Linked DNA regions of Homo sapiens: regions 1, 2 and 4 are each linked to region 3. Evidence: promoter capture Hi-C in 16 types of primary human blood cells and fetal thymus (Javierre and others, 2016). All regions are on one chromosome and are shown on one strand. The core of a region is centred on a gene start or on the middle of the fragment in contact, and the rest is flanking DNA. Distances in the headings are between cores, read along the strand shown. Region 1 holds the start of NR4A3 (nuclear receptor subfamily 4 group A member 3). Region 2 holds the start of XPA (XPA, DNA damage recognition and repair factor). Region 3 holds the start of GALNT12 (polypeptide N-acetylgalactosaminyltransferase 12). Region 4 has its middle 14 kb from the start of MSANTD3.

Region 1 (4,295 bases), core at 133-2,632, 1.0 Mb before region 3:
CTCACCACCGAGAACTTTCATTTCTACTAAGAGTAAAACACTCGGAGCAACTTCTCCAAAAGCGCGAGTTCTGTCCGTGAAAAAGCATGCCTTTCCCACACCGAGCCAACGTCCAGAGGAGAGGGACACCGTCCCCACACGTGTCAGTGTGCGGGAGTCGCCAATTACACCCGATTTACCTCCTAAGGGAAAAGTGTAAACCGGCATGTCAGCGACGACAGGCAGACGTGCCTAGTGGAACCCCAGGCTCATTTCAATACAATAAGCCACATTCCTACAATTACGCCCTCTTTCCTGAGGTCCTCCGAGTGCGTCTGCAAACTCTGGCCGTCGCTGCCTAGGCCCTTCCCTCCTAAGCTTCCTTCCAGAGAACCAGCTCGGTGCCACCATTAGCAACATTTACTTGGACCCACCAGAGCTCCTATTTTCAATCCTACTTAAAAGGCAGGAAAATTACTGCCGTTCATCACCGGAGCTGCAACTCCCTGCCGCTGCCGCTGCCGCCGCCGCCGCCGCCGCCGAGAGCATCATTACCATGACAACTAGAGCCGAAATACCCTGAATTACATCGCTGGAGCCGCTATAGCACAAATCCCGGTCCTCCTCTTTGTTAGAGGCTTTTCGCCTCTTCGAGTGGGGGGAGGAATCCCACGAGCTCCAGAGATCCCCGCGGGCCCACTACAGGGGAAAAGTTTCAGATCAGAACCTACGGGCCGCTGGGCTAGCAAAGCCGGAGCCGGGCGGCAAGGTCAGGGGAGGGAACCCCACACTCAAAGTTGTCAATTTCAGGAGCGACGCTTCCCAGCAAGCCAACTTTTTTAGCAAGTCCCCTTATTAACTGGGCGAATCTCATACGTACTTGAGTGCTGTGGCGGTTCCGTCTTTAGAGCGAGTTTCTAGAGAGCTGTCCCGAAATCTGCACTGGGGGGGAGTCACAGCTGCTGTCCCGGAAGGGCTGCGGTGTACAAGCCCAGCGGCTCCCGGAGGCGGTGAGCGGCTGGTGGGGGATGCTGCGATCCCGACTCATGGGAGAGCACAGCCGAGAGGTTCCGCGGGCGTCCTGGCTTGGGCTGTGACCAGGGGGGAGGATGCCGCCGCTGTTCCCACCTCCACGGCCACTGCCGGCACCGTCAGCGTTGCAAAGTGAGCCCGGGAGGGGCGTCCAGCTGCGGCGCCGCGCTGCACCGGCAAGGGCTCAGGGCAAGAGGGGTGTGAGCGCGCGGGAGAGCGAAGTGTGTGTGCGGAGCCTGTGTGCGCGCTTGTGTCTGTGTGTGCGAGTGAGGGAGCGGGTGTGAGCGCGTCTGTGTATGGGGAGCGGAGGAGGAGCAGGAGCTGGAGGGGTGGGGGGCGGGAGGCAGGAGACTCCGCTCTCCCGGCTGCGCGTTCGCTCGCTCTCTCGGCACGTCATTTATGCCACAGGAGCCCTAGCGGCCTCTCCATAGAGTGCCTGGAATGCGAGACGTCAATGTGACGCCATGGGACGCTACGTCACCCTCCTCCTCCCTCCCCTGGCCCAGCCGGTTCCGCGTGTGCGAGGGAGGGTGTGTGTGTTCGTGTGCGCGCGCGCGCGCGCGCGTTCCTCGGCCAGTCGCACGGCCGCACAATGGAAACTCCGCCGCACGGCCGGCCCCGGCCTGGGGGCTTCTCTTTTTGCAGCGGAACCGCTCGCCAGGGCGTGCGTCTGCGGGAGGGTGCAGCGGCCTGCCCACGGGTCAGGCGGGACCGCCCAGCTGTCAGGCTCGGGTGGAGTAGAGTTGGAGGAGTGCTGCTGGCGCGCCTCCGAGGCTGCCCCGAGGCACGGAGCCAGGGCGAGGGGGGTAAGGGAGAGGACAGCTCTTCCGAAAGGGAAGGCTCCGCCAGCCAGCTTCTGACCAGCTCCAGTGACCTGGCAGCCGGTGCAGAAGGCGTCTGGCACCAGCCCGAAGACGCCCTGAGGTGCAGCTGCACTTTCCTCTTGCATAGGTTCTAAAGCTGTTTACGTTGCTCCGGTCCTCTGCGCCCAGGCTAATCCCCCCTCCCCGCATCATTTACTGGGTGCGTGTTTCACACAGGGATGCAGATGGTTCCGGGGATAAGGTTTGATTTCTTTACACGTACGGCGTGGGTTTCTTAACTGGACACGTTATAACCCAGCGAAGTGCACATCCATCATGCACACGCGCGCTGCAGCAGAAACTACTCTGTGTGTAAAACAAACACACACGTGTTGAACAGCTGAGCGGGTCTGACTATTGCAAATCATTCCTCCTCCCCGGCACCGGGTCAGAAATGGAACTCTCAACTAGCACTTTCACTTTTTGATGGTTGTAGATGCCCTCCGCCCACATCTCCCAAATTAAACATTTCGAAATCAATCAACAGGACTTATTAGTCAGTCCCTCGCTAGGGGATTTGCTTTGGTCTCCTCGGACACATTTGTCATGAAATGGTGTGCCGAAAGCCTGGGTGACTGTATGAAGGAGAGCAATTTCTTCCTGGAAATGATAAATTTAAGTGTAAATTTCTTGATGAAAACAAAATTTATCAGAGTTAAAGACCCCTAGTCCCAAAGGTTGCTGCTGAGTGAACGCAGTCTCTTTCAGAAATGAATTTTTGGACAGGAGAAAATATTTGAGTGAAACAATGCAGATAGAGTGGTCCCCATGTGGTCCGCTTGAATCACAAATACCGTTTTATATGTTTGACCTGTCCCAATTTGTGTGTGTGTGGCGGGGGCGGGGGGCGCTGCGCCGAGGGGAGATACAAGATTCCTTTGTAGACAGCACACATTTCAGAATCGAAGAAGGTTCGAGCTAGGACCAGAAACTTGAAAACAAACTACATATAGGTAAATATGGCATGTATATCTTTCTTCGCCTCCACTTCCAATTCAGACACGGTGGTGCGGAGAGGATCGTGGGAGAATGCCCCGAAAGTTGACCCAGCCGAGAGCAACCGAGTCTCTGCACTGCGGCGGGTTCCAATCCAGCCTCGGAAGGAAGGAGGGCGCTGCTACATTGTATCCATTCAAAGGCTTGAAGGGGGGGAGCAGGACCTGGAGCCGCGCGGCGCTGACGCACGCGAGGCGCGTGATTGACGCAGGCGATGTTACTAAATTCGGCGGTTGGCCGGGACCCGCCGCCGGCGCGCGCCGCAGATAGCGGAGTAGGTTCCCCTCGGTCACCCCCGCCCCTTCTCCATTCAACGCCGCGCGGGGCGGGGCAGGGCGCGCGGGGCGGGGCGGGGCGGGGCGGGGAGCGCGCGGCCGCGCCAGGATCCGGCCGAACCAAATATAGTCGGGCCTGGCTATTTTTAGCCGGGTCTCGGGCGCGAGCCCGCCGCGTGAGGGGGCGCCCTGACCCCGCCGGGAGTGCGGAGGGGGCGGGGGCGGAGTCGCCATCTTGGACTCGGTTCGACCAGGTCTGGTGACCGGCGACGAGGGGCCGGGCTCGGCGCCGGGGGTCGGGGTGAGTGGGTGCGAGCCGTGGGAGAGAGGGGGGGCGCTGGCGGCTCTCTTCGTCCGGCGCGGGCTGTGAGAAGTGAGCAGGGCGAGGCGCGGGCGACAGCGGGGCGCGAGGCCCGTGCATGTGTGTGCGCACGGAGGTGGGGAGACGGTGATCCCCGCCCGCCCTGCGGAAGGCCCGGCGGTTCTACCACCCGGCAGCTCGGCCAGCCCCGAGTCGCGTGGGGGCGGAGCTGCCCGCGGCCACCACTTCCTGAGTGCCGGGGATACCCTTCCCGGACGTCACGGAGGAGCCGAGGCGGCGGTGGCGGCCCGGGGCTCATCCTGCACTTGCATCACGGGTGCAGCAGCAGCTGCTCTGCTCCTTTGTGGCTTTTTGCCCCGTTGAGTAACTGCTTTGTTAACTGAAAATACCATGACGGGCCAGTGTGATCACCAGCTCCAGATCTCAAAGAAAGTGAAGCTGTCAGGCAAGAAGAGGGAGACTCCCCCAGCCGGCTGCGATGGTATCTGGTGGGTGGATGTGTAGAGAAGCACTTGACAGTTTCCACGTATTACTTCTTGCCTAACTCTTCACCCCCAAGAAGATTTAAAAATACTTTTATTTCCATGCTGTAAAAATTTCATTTGTGTTCTGCACCTCCCTCACCCCCCTAATCCTCCTTCAATTAAAACTCTCATGTAGAACTGGAATCACTGTAAGCAGGAACCCTAAAATTAGGTACAGTTTTTAGGAAACATGACATCTTTCAATGAATTTATTCAATAAACTACATTTTCTAAATGTTAATATGTATGAAAGGTCCTTGCCCACTCAGGGTTGTTATAAAGCTGCTAAATTGTTCATATGAGT
Region 2 (4,588 bases), core at 1,162-3,661, 1.1 Mb after region 3:
TAACTAGACGACCCCCCCTTTCTAAACCAAGGTATAAAAGTTAATCAAGCCCCTTCCTCGGGGCCGAGAGAATTTTGAGCGTTAGCCGTCTCTCGGTCGCCGGCTAATAAAGGACTCTTAATTCATCTCAAAGTGTGGCGTTTTTTTAACTCGCTCGGGTACAACACTTTTACTTCCTCTTCGTGGTTCTTCTTCATGAAGAGCAGCTCCTCCTTGAGAGCTTCGATCTCTGTCTCCAGCTGCAGCCGAGTGACACTGGTGTCATCAGTGACCTCCGGAGCCCATGGATGTGGCTCTCCACAGACTGGCGCATGGCCAGCTCTGTCTCATACTTGACTCTAAAGTCATCAGCAGCAAGACCAGCATTGTCAATCTGCAGAACAATGCAGGCATTGTCCACAGTATTTGTGAAGATCTGAGTCCTCAGGCCCTCAATGGTCTTGAAGTAATGGCTCATCTCTGACCTGGGGTCCCTTCTTCTACAGGTGCTCCTGGATTTTACTCTCCAGCTTCCAGTTCTTGGCCTCCAGGCTCCTCATTCTGTCCAGGTAGGAGGCCAGGCAGTTGTTCAGGTTTTGCACGGTCTCCTTCTTGTTCTGGATGCCTCTCATTCCTGCCAGACCCCTGGCCATCCCCGCGGCCAGGCCCCCGGAACCCATGCTGCTCAGGTAGCTGGTGGAGCGGGACATGGAGATCCGGGAACCAGAGCCCCCGTGCCTGTACAGACGCTGGCTATGCTGCTGACCAGCCGGACACCGTAGCTGGGTGCCTGGACAGAACCCAGGGACCGGTAGTTGGTGGAGAAGGTGGAGCGAGTGGTGAAGCTTATGCTGTCCAGGGAGGAGAGTGAGAGGACAGGACTCAGGCTTTGCCGACGACTTTAATTTTTTTTTGAGACAAGATGTTATTGTGTTGCCCAGGCTGGAGTGTAGTGGTGCCATCACAGCTCACTGCAGCCTTGACCTCCTGAGATGGGTTCTTGTTACATTGCCCAGGTTGGTCTTGAACTCCTGGTCTCAAGCAATCCTCCTGTGTTGGCCTCCCAAAGGGCTGGGATTACAGACATGAGCCACTGCACCTTGCCAATTATTATTATTTTTTAATAGTGACAGGGTCTCACTGTGTTGCCTCAGCTTGTCTTGAACTCATGACCTCAAGTCATCCTCCTGCCTTGGCCTCCCAAACTGTTGAGATTACAGGTGTGAACCACTGTGCCCAGCCTAGTTTTTAATTTTAATGAAGTCCAGCTTTTTTTCTTTTGTTGCTTGTGCTTTTGATGTTATGGAATTTGAAATAGTTTCACCTGGGCAAGATTGATGGGTAGGGAGAAAGAAGGATCTGAGGGGAAGGGAGATGGGGATGGCTTGAGATTCTATCTCCAATTCAACCTAAGATTTCAGCAGGTAACTGCTTTATACGAGGTTTTGCAGCTTTATGTATATATGACCGATAAATTAGAACACTGAATTGTGTTTCTGAAAGGTTAACCATTGAACATTAGTGGGAAACATCAGTGTGTGAGGTTGTCTTTCTAAAAGCCAGTCCTAAATGGTACATGTAGTAATTAGAAGTTAATGTTTTCTGGTTTCAATTAAGCATTATTTGTAACAAAGGGAAAGCATACATTTTTGGGAAAGCCTGCTATGTTTCTTTTGTTACACTAGCCACACTTTTGGGAAGTCAGGATATTTGGCCCAGATCCAAACCCACTGTCTACCTGGCAGTAGCTCATCCTCACTGAAGGAATATTCCATGGGAAAGATAGCCAACCTTATGCATATCAGCCTTGGAGCAAGTCCTGCATTTGCCTGAGGTCACACAGCAAGTTAACTGGGAGTTTCAACCCAGGTCTTCTCATTTTAAATCTAAGGCTGTGTCTCTAGGCCGTGTATCCAACATAAAATCAGGACTATCATCTGTTGGGCTCTATGACTGGCACTACTACTACTCACTGTTACCATTTTTTGAGGTCTTCTACGTGCCAGGTTATTGTCCTGGCAATCTAATCCTCCCAAAGACTCGGTAAATGGTTCCATAATTATCCTCATTTTACCACTGAAGAAACTGAACTCTGGTTAAATAACTTGCCCAAGGTCACACAGACTTTAACTGTCAAGAGCTCAGACTTAACCCAGGCCTGACTCCAAAGCCTATACTCTGAATCACCAAGCGAGACCTATTTTAAAGGTGACCAGGTCGTGAGATATGATCTCAGCACGGACCCTTCTCCCGGATGACAAGAGAGCAGGTAGTTAGGCGGGTACTCCGTGTCCGCGCATACCCAGACTCCGCCCAGCGCCCGGGCAGGCCACCCCGAGCCCCTTAACTGCGCAGGCGCTCTCACTCAGAAAGGCCGCTGGGTGCGGGGAGCGCAGAGGCGGTGCAGGGCGGCTGGCTCGCCTCGGCGTGCAGTGCGCGTGCGTGGAGCTGGGAGCTAGGTCCTCGGAGTGGGCCAGAGATGGCGGCGGCCGACGGGGCTTTGCCGGAGGCGGCGGCTTTAGAGCAACCCGCGGAGCTGCCTGCCTCGGTGCGGGCGAGTATCGAGCGGAAGCGGCAGCGGGCACTGATGCTGCGCCAGGCCCGGCTGGCTGCCCGGCCCTACTCGGCGACGGCGGCTGCGGCTACTGGAGGTTTGGGCCGCGTCCGCGCTTTCCCCTTCCCTCTCCCCGCCTCCCCGGTCCCCAGACTGGCTCGTGCAAGCCGAGTCCCGGGGCCCGGGGGTCGCGTCAACTCCGCTGGCGTATGTGTGCAGATTCTCCCCGAGTCGGAGAGGGAATCCGCCCAGCCAGCCGCCTTGTCAAAGCGTCCTGTCCACGACCACAGAGCGTTCCTCTGTCGCACGCGGGCCTCCTGACCCCCAGCCCCGGGCCTTCTTCGCTGCACCTCGGCTGCTGGCAGCTTCGATTTTTCGTTTAGGGATGCAGCCGCCCCGGCCGGGAGGTGTCAGCCACTGCCAGGTGTCAGGGCCTCAGCTGTCCCGGAAAGAGGAGTTAGACTAGTTCTTGATTCTGGCCTCTATACCTAGAACTAGTTGATGGAAGAGGCAGATCTTGGTGTTTGTTAGGGAGAGCTTTCAACAATTAGAGTTGCCAAAAGTGCAATGGATTGCTTCTCATGAGCTTCCCGTTACTAGAAGCGCTCAAATAGGAACTGGAAGAACGCTTACTTATGTGGAGGAGAGGAGATTCAGCAATCAGAATCTCCTACTCAGCAATCAGAAGAAGGGACTGGATAGTAAACCTTTAAGATTCTAATCCATAGATTCCATGAGTCTATTTCTTGGACATGTGACCTCTGCGATTTCTTGGCAAAAACTAGTTGCTCAAAACGTGTTTATTGATTGAAGTAAATTAAGGACTGATCTCTCATTGCAGATTATTCTCTTATAGAATTTGCCACTGGGGTCAACTAATAATCTTTAACAGGATACTTAAAATATAGTTTGGTTGACAGGCAGTTCTTCAGGGCTGCCTCTATAACATGAAGTACATGTGTTCCTAAAGCTCTATACTGCCCTTTGTCGAGCACAGTTTAGAGCTGTATTACTCTTTTTTATCAGCCAGATGTAGTGAGAGTGAGAAGAGTCTGAGGCTGGCAGCATGTCTTGATGTTCATACTAACACCGAAACTGCAAATTCCAGCTACTTTTGATGGTACTGGTCTCATCCTTTCTACTTTATAGTGGTTACCTTTTATTCCTTTCTAAACTTGAGGCACGCTAGAGTCAGACAGAAAGTTCATTTGCACTGATTAATTCATAGTCATGATTCCATAAAGGTTTCCAGGTCTACGACATGGCTGTGGAACGGAAGGTGCAAAATAGCAAAAACTGACATTAAATTAAACTTTTGATCATGGAAAGCAAGGTAGAATGAACATTCTTTAAGATTTCTTAGGCAGTTCCCCAAGAACTGAACTGTATTGTAGCATTGTGTACAACCCACCATGTTTCAAGAGTTAGGTAAGTGCTGAGATTTTTATCTTTGTGACACTTTTATTTCATGGTACTATACAATTTTCTTTTTCTCTGTGTGCCATGACATATGCCATGAAAGACTGAAAAAACTTGCTTAGAATACGAAGAGTGGTGCTAAGGTCCTGGGGAAACAGCAAGGCATAGCAGCAGAGAGAAATCGGACTTTGTTTTGGGCATGAGTTAGCATTGTTTAGGATCCTGCTCAAGTCATGGGCTCGACTACTCCAGCTTTCCCTCTTCTTAATTCTCATTGTGTTTACTGTCATTCCATTCATTTACTTTGCTATTTATATTACATATTCTGGTAGGTTCATTCATTTCTATCCATCCAGTTGGTACTCATGGAATGTTTACTATTTGTCAGAAGTATACAAGTAAAGGCACTCAGTCTAATGAAGGGATACAGAGAGATGAACAGGCATTATAGTGTGAGAATTGCTGTTAACAGTGGAAACAAGTTTATAATCTAATCCTTTCATTTAATAGAGGGAGAAATTGAGGCCAGAGAAGGGGAGTGACTGTAGCAGAATAAAACATATTAATCTGTCTTAATAAATGGAGGTGTAACATACTGTAAAATGTACTCATCTGAATTTTACCTATGTGAATGCT
Region 3 (4,632 bases), core at 738-3,237:
CCAGGTATTGATGCTTTATTAATTCCTAAGTTGTGTTCTTTCCACTCACTTTTATGTAGAATGCATGGAGACTCACTTTTATGAGTTTCCTATTTCGCAAACGAAGGGAAACCAAGGCTCTGAGAGGCTAAGCAGCTTGCCAGAGATCACAGAAGTGACGAGCAAAAGAACCAGGATTTTATCTCCCCTGGGCTGGATTTAATCTGAAGCTGGGTATAACCTGAAAGCTTCCCCTCCACCTTGCCTCAGCGGGCACCCTCGGGGTTTCGAGGAGCTAAACATGCGTTAGGCTGGTGAGTGGAGGAACTACTATCAATCCCAACAAAGTTTTATTCAAAAAGACTAACAGTGAAAAATGCCTCAGGCAGAAGCATGAGGCTAGGCATGAGGAGATCCCCAAAACAGGGAAGACAGTGGAAACAGTGGGGCAGAGGTGGGGCATCCTCATTCCATCATTCATGGTCTCTCTGGCCAAGGTACCATGGAGCAGGCCCCTAAAATCCTGAGATCAGCATGGTGCCAAGTGGGCCAGAAGGGCCATAGTCCCTCCAGACCAGTCCTACCACATTCCAGCTGAGGGGCCTTGGGTGGGTCACCTATCCTTTCCGAACCTATTTCCACACCTGTAAAGCAGGAATGGCTTGAAGGGGAGAGGAGTGGCAGGTGCCTGGTGCACACGGCAGGCTGCCACCACCAGCTCCAATGGGAACCCCCTCTCTGAGTCCTCTTTTCCTCAAAGTCTGTAAGGAAGGGGCTCAAAAAAGGACTTGGAAGATCCCTGACACTTCGAAGAAAAAGTGAGAGCCCGGGAGGCCCAGCGGCAAAGGTGGCAGCAGCCACCTGTCCTTCCTCCTGCTGCCAGCGTGTGCCCTGGATCCCCACCTAGGCAGGGGCGCAACCTGCCCAGCCAGTAGCTCCAACAGGAACTAGGCCTCTGACCACGCTGGCTCCAGTCCAGCACCACCCACAGGAGTGAGCTGGGGTGGATCACGGCCAGAAGGAGCCCTTCCCACCCCGTGCCCCTTCCCGCCTTCCTCCACCCAAAGCTCAGAAATCCAATGCCCAGGGAGAGCACAAGGAGGCTTTCTAGCGCTGAGGGGGCCTTACAGCCATCTTTCGCTTCACCTGTGGGGCGCTCCCTCGCATCTTGTTTGTCCCTTAGGCCCTGGCACACACAGAGAATGAATGGAGCCGGTCACCGCCCGGAGGAGTTGTCAGTTTCGCGGAGGCACTGCGAGGCGGGCAGAGCGGGGTTGTCCTTTGGGTGCTGGGGGGTCCTCGCCTTAAACCCTTCTGCTTAGCCCTGACCCTCACCTTTTCAGGGAGATGATAACTTCTCAAGGAGAAGGGAGCTAAGAGATCACTAACAGACTTGCCAATTTCTGGTAATTTTTTTTCTACTTTCGTCTTTTTTACTTTCTTGCCTCCCCGCCCCCATGTGAGCTCTTACACTATCGTCTTCGGAGAAAGACTCAATAAGACGCGCCATCCTGGAGACCCCAGCTCCCCGCCCTGCCACTGCTCTGATGGAGAAACTGAGGCCCGGGGCTCTGAGGGCGGGCTTCCTCCCCAGAGCTGTGCACTCACAGCGGGTTCCAGCGCTCGGGCAGGCGGCGGTGCAGTGAGATGCGGTCGCTGAGGTAGATGTTAATCTGGTGCAGCCGCACGCTCTCCTCCTGCAGCCGCAGCTCCTCGCCCTGCAGCTGCAGCCGCACCGCCTCGCCCCGCGCGCCCAGCGCGTTCGCCGGCACCGGCGGCCGCGGCATGACCGGCTCGCGCCGCCCGGGGCGCGGGGTGCGCGGGGGTCCCGGCTCGGCAGCCCCGGCCCCGGCCCCACGCTGCGCCCGCAGCACCGAGCCCAGCCCGGCCAACGCCAGTAGCGCCAGGAGCACCAACAGCGCCTCCCGGCCGCGCCGCAGTTCCCGCGGGCAGCGCCGCCGCGCCGTGCGCCCCCACATGCGCCCGCCAACTGCAGCCAGCGATCTGCGCGCCCCAAGGCGGCGGTGGAGGCCAGGACCCGGATCCCGGAACCGCCGTGCCGCCCCGCCCCCGGCCCGCCCCACCTGCGCGCCGCCCCCTTTCCGTCCAGCCCCGCGCCAGCCCAAGCGCAGCCCCCGGGGTGGCTCATTTCGGCAGGGTCTTCAAGTGGGCTGGCTGAGACTTGCATCTTCCTTCTTGGGCTATGGTGCATTATTAAAGAGATAGTGGTGGTAAAACCCTTAGCGCCTGGCATATTGTAGGCGCTAAGTGTTGGCTGAATACACCCTGCAGGGTGTTATGAATTCTACTGCCATTATCTCATCTGATCTTTACACAGTCCAATAAAACAACCATCAACTAGGATTACGAGCTCCCTTTTACAGATGAGGAGATGGAGGTGCGATGAGATCAACAGACACCACGCTGCCCCACTGACTTCTGCAGGCCCAGCCTCTGCCATACTCTTTGGAGTCCTTGAATAGCAAACCCTCGCCTGGCTCGCCTCGTGATAGCTCTGTGACCTCTGAGGCTAGGAGCAAAAGGCCATGAAGGCTGTACATGATAGTTCACACCTGTAATCCCAGGCCGAGATAGGAGGATCACTTGAAGCCAGGAGCTTAAAACGAGACTGGTCAACATAGCAAGACTCCCATCTCTACAGAAAAATTTCAGAATTAGCCATGCATGGTGGCACGTGCCTATAGTGCCAGCTACTCAGGATGCTGAAGCAGGAGGATTGTGTGAGCCCAGGAATTGGAGGTTACCGTGAACTATGCGCCACTGCGCTGCAGCCTGGATGACAAAGCGAGATCCTGTTTCTATTAAACAACAACCAAAAAAGGCCATGAAGCTGCCGCCCTGTTCATGAGATCACTGCTGTGGGAGCCTTGAGCTGCCAGGGACGAAGTAAGTCTAATGGAGTAGACAAATATTAAAAAGATAATTAGAATTGTGTTAAGTATTTTGAAGAAGAATTACAGGGCGCTAAAAGGGCTTAGAATAGTAGAACTTGATCTAGTTTGGGGGTTTTGGAAAGCTTCTCTGATGAAGTAATGTCTACACAGATATCTGAATGTAAAAGTGATAGCAGAGATTTCAAATCATATCTTAAATTAATCTGGAACTCCCTCTGCTGGTGTCTAGCTCAGGGAAAAGAATCATTCTGTATCCCCTGTAGAAGGATAGAGTGTAAGCTCTATTTGTTGTTGTTTGTTTTACCATGGGAAGTTGGTCCAAAGCTTTTTATCAAATATTCTCAAGGAGACCAGAAGCCCAGAAAGTTTAAAAAGCACAAATCTGGTCCAATTATCTCATTGATAAATGCGGGGTCTGAGACACAGGGTGGGGAGAGGACCTTGAACTTGGCGGCTCAGGTAGAGGTAGAATCTGACTTGCTGTTGTCTTCATACAGCCTTTGGCTACTGGTATCCCCAGAGGAAATCTCCCTCAGGTTGCAGGAGGGGGGTGGGTTTTGGGATGAACCATGCAAAGCAGCTCCCACTCAGGACAACCTGCTGCTAATATTAGACTAGAGGGAAGTGGCTCTTCCCACAGTGCTCAGGGCCCCGCCTGCTTCCCACGCAGAATGGAGGCTGCTGGTTAATGCCAGAAGGCGGTTGTGTTAGGTAGGTCTGGACCTGAGCCCTTTGGCCTCTGTTCAGACACCCAACACATTTAAGATCTGCGGTCAGATTAGAAAACAGACAAGGATTACAATTCATAATGTCTTGGATCCGCTTGCCAAATTGGAATGCTTCTCAATAGAGGTTCAGATACAGAGAAAAGAGAAATGCAATTAGGCCTTACAAGACATGGACTTAAGCCCCAGGTAACAGATAAAAGCTATTGTTTACTGAGCACACACTGTGTGCTGTAAACTGCTGGACTTTCTTTTTCATGTACTTTCTCATTTCACCCTATGACAACCTTGCAAGGTTGACAGATGAGAATATGTAGGCTCAAGAAGTGAAGCAACTTGCCCAAGGTTACACAACATGCAAGCGGTAGAGGGAGGATTTGTATCTGGGTCTCCTGACTCACAGTCCAGGATTTCCCACCACACCACTCACTGTTGGGCAGGCTGCAATGAGATGCAAAGGCAGCTTAGCTTAGGAGGTCGGAACACAACCTTGGAGCCCACTTGCCTGAGCTCAACCCAGCCCCATCACGAATTGCAGTGTGACCTCAGGCAAGTTGCTTTACTTATCTCGGCTCAATTTGCTCATCTATTAAATGGTGATCTAATGATAGCACCACCTGAACAGGGTTGTTGAGAAGATTGAGTGATACAGTCTGCACAGTCAGCCTCCCGGGGCACAAAACAGAGTGGAGAGAGTGTCAGTAAGGCAAAGGGAAGATGTCCAGCACCTTGCTGAGTGAAGTATGATATTTAGACCAGAAGCATTGGTACCACCTGGGAGCTTGTTGGAAATCTAGCATCTTTTCAACAGAGGTAAAGCCCTTGGGTTTATTGCTATTTTTAGGGGGCTTATCTGTTCACTAACAGTACCATGTTATGTCATCGGCTGCTCACCAACAAGTAGATATCTCTAGAAGATGCTTTTAATTTGTCATATTAGCTCTCTTCATAGGAGTTATTACATTCCTTTTAGAGTTTAATATGATCTATGGTAGATGTGGTATTTCAAATAT
Region 4 (4,821 bases), core at 1,048-3,547, 1.6 Mb before region 3:
TTTCGAATGGGACTGTCCAACAGAAAAAGGACATTAGGCAAAAATGAAGAAAATCTGAATAAAATATGGGCTTTAGTTAATAATAATGTATCAATATTTGTTCATTGATTGTGACAAAGATACCATTCTAATGTAAGATATTAACAATAGAGAAACTAGGTGTGGGATATATAGGAGTACTCTGTTCTATCTTCACAGTTTTTCTGTAAATCTAAAACTACACAAAAATAAAAAGTTGATTTTTAAAAATTGGCTTCTATGTTATAGACACCCTTAACAACACTAAAAGACAAAATCAAAACAATGATGTACTATTTTCAGATACCAGATTGACCAAAATGTAAAACTGTTTGGAAAAAATGGGTTCTTTCATGGAAGTGTAAATCGATAGGAGCTTTTTAAAGGGCAGTTGCTCTCAGAATGTTAAAATGTGTATTCCTAGGTATCTAGAGAACGACTACTTTCACATATGCAAAAAAGGGCATGCACAAGGGTTTCCTAAAGCATCATTAAACCTAACTTCTATCAAAAAGGAAATGATTAAATAAGCTATGGAATAGTCATATTTAGAACACCGTATTTCGGCCGGGCGCAGTGGCTCACGCCTGTAATCCCAGCATTTTGGGAGGCAGAGGCGGGCGGATCACGAGGTCAGGAGATCGAGACCATCCTGGCTAACACGGTGAAACCCTGTCTCTACTAAAAATACAAAAAATTAGCCGGGCGTAGTGGCGGGCGCCTGTAGTCCCAGCCACTCAGGAGGCTGAGAGAGGAGAATGGCGTGAACTCGGGAGGCGGAGCTTGCAGTGAGCCGAGATCGCGCCACTGCACTCCAGCCTGGGCCACAGAGCGAGACTCGGTCTCAAAAAAAAAAAAAAGAACACTGTATTTCATTAACTCGAGGATGTGACCCGCTATAGCCTTCGTTATTTCATACATCATTAAGAAAGAAAAATGATCCTAATTAAGCTATGACACAAAGCTTTCTTGCCATTTATAATTTTTATTTTATACTTATTGAAAAAGCTAATTAAGGCTTAAGACATCTTTAGTTCCATATTATCCTTATGCATAAATTAAAAGGATTCATGAAATAAATTGATTACCATATAGCTAAATCCTCTTCTCAGAGTCTGAACCTTCTGTATAATGTTTAGACTCAGAATCATCAATATGCCAGGCTGCTAACCTCCATTCTGCAAGTTTTGATGCATACCCAGCAGGCAATGACAACCACATCACTATTGCTGCCTTGCTAGCTGACAGCAACTGTAAGATGCATACCAATCTGAGAGATCATAAAATGTGAATAAAAAAGTGTGCCTTAGAAACAAGAGTATTTTGCAGCAGCTAAAGGAACTGAGGAATTCTAATTCATATTGCTAAGAAAAAATAGCAAGTTGCAAAAAATAATATGCAGTATAAGCACATTTATGGAAAAAAGCAAAATAAACCTCTATGTTTGTGGGACATTCCCTGAAAATTTGGCTACTCAAATTTTCTTCCTTTTTTTTTTTTTTTTTTTTTTTTTTTTTGATACAAAGCCTCTCTCTGTCTCCCAGGCTGGAGTGCAGTGGCGCGATGTCGGCTCACTGCAACCTCCGCCTCCCGGGTTCAAGCGATTCTCCTGCCTCAGCCGCCGGAGCAGCTGGGACCACAGGCTCGCACCACCATGCCCGGCTAATTTTTTTGTATTTTTAATGGAGATGGGGTTTCACTATATTGGCTAAGCTGGTCTCAAACTCCTGACCTCAGGTGATCCGCCCACTTTGGCCTCCCAAAGTGCTGGGATTACAGGCATGAGCCACCACATCCGGCCTCAAATTTTCTGTACTTGAAAATTCTATACTTTAGATACTTGAAATTACCTTTCAAGTATCTATAGAATGGCATGATAAGGGGGACCTCACAGCTCCCCTTTATTGTGCCATTCTATACTTTAGACACTTGAAAAGTAACTTTCCCAGACTCCTGTTGAGAGGTCAACTTGATAAAATTCCTGTCAATGAGTAGCAGGCGGGTATTCCCTTAGGCTCCTTTTCTTGAATGAAAATATAAAACTTCACAAGAAGATGACTTTTGGCTTTTCTTATCTAGTACATGCACACAATTCCTCGAGAAGCAGCAATCATCTTATGACCACAAGGACAAAAGTCACATGCTGGGAGTGGTAAACTGAAAGATAGAAGGACCCTAAGCGCCTGAGAGCATTGTTGAGCTGAGCTGCCATGCACTCCCGCTGTGCGCTGCCTGCTCCTGGGCTTCTTTCCTCTCCTTTTCTTTGTGTGGTAAAATATACATAAAATTTACCATTTTAACCATTTTTTGGTTTTGTTTTGGTTTTGAGGTCTTGCTCTGTCGCCCAGGCTGGAGTGCAGTGGCGCGATCTCGGCTGACTGCAACCTCTGCCTTCCGCGTTCAAGCGATTCTCTTGCCTCAGCCTCCTGAGTAGCTGGGATTACAGGTGCGCGCCACCACGCCCAGCCAATTTTTGTATTTTTAGTAGAGACGGGGTTCCACCACGTTGGTCAGGCTGGTTTCGAACTCCTGACCTCGTGATCCACCCGCCTCGGCCTCCCAAAGTGCTGGGATTACAGGCGTGAGCCACTGCGCCCGGCCCATTTTAACCATTTTTAAGTGTACAGTTCAGTGGCATTAAGTGCATTCACATGGCTGTGCAACCATTTTCACCATCCATCCAGACGTTTTCATCATCCTCAACTCTGCACCTGTTAAACACTAACTCCTCATTTCTGCCCTACCTGCAGCCTCAGGTAACCATTATTCTATTCATCTGTCTTTGTGTATAATATTTGACTATTCCAGATACTTCATGTAACTGGAATCATACAACATGTGTTCTTTTGTGTATGTTTTTTTTCACTTAGCATAGTGTCTTCAAGGTTTGTCCATGTTGTAACTTGCATCAGAATTTCACTCTTTTTAAAGGCTGAATAAGGTTCCGTATATACCACATTTTGTTTATCATTTATACGGGGACATTTGATTTGTTTCCCCCGGGCTTTTGTTTGTTTGTTTTGTTTTTTCAGGGTTTTACTCTGTTGCCCAGGCTGGAGGGCAGTGGGGCGATCACTGCTCGCTGCAGCCTCAACCTCCCAGGCTCAAGCGATCCTCCAACCTCATGATAATGGTTATAATAGCACTTGCCATTTACTGGGCTTTTTCTGCGTACCAGGCAGTGCGCTAAGCCCTTGATACATACGACGTCATTTAATCTTCACAAAATCCCTGTGATGCACACAACTACAATCAACTACATTTGATACAGGTAGCGATTGAAACTTGGACAGATAACTTGCCCAAGGCCACACACAGTCACACCAGACACTGGAATCTGGATCTGTCTCACTGCAAAGCAGCAATTCTTGACCACTAAAGTAATTGAAAAAAAAAAAAAGCAAAATCAATAGACTCGATGTGAGCAGTAAAAGACGCATCGTGTGTAAACTAAGGTCAGTCTCTGACGGGTTCTCTTTGAGTACCCCCGGGACACCCACTAAACGGCCCCAAGAGCGCTAACCCCACAGAGCCCTAGAGGTTTTCCTGCTCCTATCCCATCCACGTTTTCCTCGTCACTGCAGTCTAAGCTTCGCGAGCTCCTCCCCTTCTTCGCCACTGGCTCCTCCTACGCAAGCGCACTGTGACCCGGAACTTGACTACCGTTCAGCGTGTCTCCCAGAGCTGCTGCGCTGGAGCTGAGGGAGCGCGCAGAGCGGGGCGGTTGGGCGGGGCCTCTGTGTAAGCTGCGGGGCTTCGCGGGCTTTGGGTTGGGGAATGAATGGCGTGGACCGTACTTGTCAAATGGAAGGAGTCGCAAAAATTTCGATTGCACAAGTGTTTCATCCATCCCTCCATTTACTCCAGAAGTCTGTACAATGTCAATGACTGCTGTGTGCTGGCACCCACCTGGCACAACGACTGTGCTCCCTGCGTACCCGCACTTGATGGATACAGCAGTTCATGAAGGAAATGGGGACTAGGGGATGTGAAAGATGTTCCTGGAACCTCCCTCCTTGCTCACAGCCCCCATTTCCCTATCCCCTCACCCCACCACCAAAATTCATATAGGAGATGTCGGTATCTAGCAGGAATGGCACCAGGTTGTCTCTAGGGTTACCATTCCATGCTCCTCTGTTATCCAGAGGACCCGTACTTACCCCATGCGCATTCATCTGAGGGTCATGTAATGGCCTTTTTTAGTGTCAATGTCCTCCTAAGACTGTATGATCTAGGATGGTAGAGACAAGGTCTTGCTCACACTTGAGTCCCCTGACAGTTGAATACCCAGATCCTAACGCAGAGTTTGGCCCAGGTAAGATTCAGATTTACCTCAATATAAGAAACACAAATGAGCAGCTACTCTGTACAGTAGGCTATGTGATATATAGCATACAAAAATAGGCTAAGTCCGCTTTCTAGGAGCTCACAGTCTAGGAGGGTTGGAACGCTTTTCATAAGATAAGGTGAGGAAAGGGGGCACTCAACAAAGGAGCAAATAGCTAGGGATGGGGACTGTCGAAGGCAGACCATTGATCCTTAACGCTGGTCCCCAGGGACAGAGAAAGAGAAAAGGGAGTGGGGGAGGGAGGGGAAGAAAAGTAGTAATTTTGTTTTGCTTGCTTATTTGTATTTTTGTGCCAAACTATTTTTTTTCTATTATGTTTTCTCAAAAGTTGAATATTTTCTCACATCTGCAGCAACCTGGGCCATTATTGCATAAATTCCTCTTTCCTCAATGTCTGCTTCATGTCAGTCCTCTAACCTCTCTCTCCCAGTTCTTCCTCCTGACACCTACCACTC

The links. Contacts are between HindIII fragments. The CHiCAGO score rates a contact against its expected background, and 5 or more counts as called.
Region 1: the fragment with the promoter of NR4A3 here is called in contact with the fragment with the promoter of GALNT12 in region 3 in 3 of 17 cell types (fetal thymus, non-activated CD4 T cells and naive CD8 T cells); the score reaches 5.9 in fetal thymus.
Region 2: the fragment with the promoter of XPA here is called in contact with the fragment with the promoter of GALNT12 in region 3 in 2 of 17 cell types (total B cells and fetal thymus); the score reaches 6.6 in total B cells.
Region 4: a contact is called between a fragment that was not itself captured here and the fragment with the promoter of GALNT12 in region 3, in 1 of 17 cell types (activated CD4 T cells). The highest score is 6.5, in activated CD4 T cells.

The regions. Positions count from the first base shown.
Region 1 is chr9:99,818,972-99,823,266 of GRCh38, reverse strand. NR4A3 (nuclear receptor subfamily 4 group A member 3) reads right to left here and starts at 1,382. Exons shown (of 8, transcript NM_006981.4): 1 at 860-1,382. LOC101928438 (a long non-coding RNA gene) reads left to right here and starts at 3,378. Exons shown (of 7, transcript NR_109802.1): 1 at 3,378-3,446. RefSeq lists enhancers at 152-664, 3,067-3,660, 3,661-4,254 and silencers at 1,239-1,288, 3,170-3,719. The HindIII fragment of the contact is 5,731 bases long and covers 360-4,295 here.
Region 2 is chr9:97,695,163-97,699,750 of GRCh38, reverse strand. It overlaps XPA (XPA, DNA damage recognition and repair factor), which reads left to right and starts at 2,411. Exons shown (of 6, transcript NM_000380.4): 1 at 2,411-2,630. The coding sequence starts at 2,459. PTCSC2 (papillary thyroid carcinoma susceptibility candidate 2) reads left to right here. Exons shown (of 11, transcript NR_147055.1): 11 at 1-126. It also overlaps the pseudogene KRT18P13. RefSeq lists a silencer at 2,250-2,349 and enhancers at 2,900-2,949, 2,960-3,019. The HindIII fragment of the contact is 4,221 bases long and covers 827-4,588 here.
Region 3 is chr9:98,805,025-98,809,656 of GRCh38, reverse strand. It overlaps GALNT12 (polypeptide N-acetylgalactosaminyltransferase 12), which reads right to left and starts at 1,987. Exons shown (of 10, transcript NM_024642.5): 1 at 1,588-1,987. The coding sequence starts at 1,958. LOC124902229 (a long non-coding RNA gene) reads left to right here and starts at 2,077. Exons shown (of 2, transcript XR_007061689.1): 1 at 2,077-2,886. RefSeq lists silencers at 1,846-1,915, 2,016-2,105. The HindIII fragment of the contact is 2,789 bases long and covers 230-3,018 here.
Region 4 is chr9:100,410,633-100,415,453 of GRCh38, reverse strand. No RefSeq gene overlaps it. Among named protein-coding and RNA genes, the nearest start is that of MSANTD3, 14 kb to the left of the region's middle. RefSeq lists a silencer at 3,733-3,822. The HindIII fragment of the contact is 2,626 bases long and covers 985-3,610 here.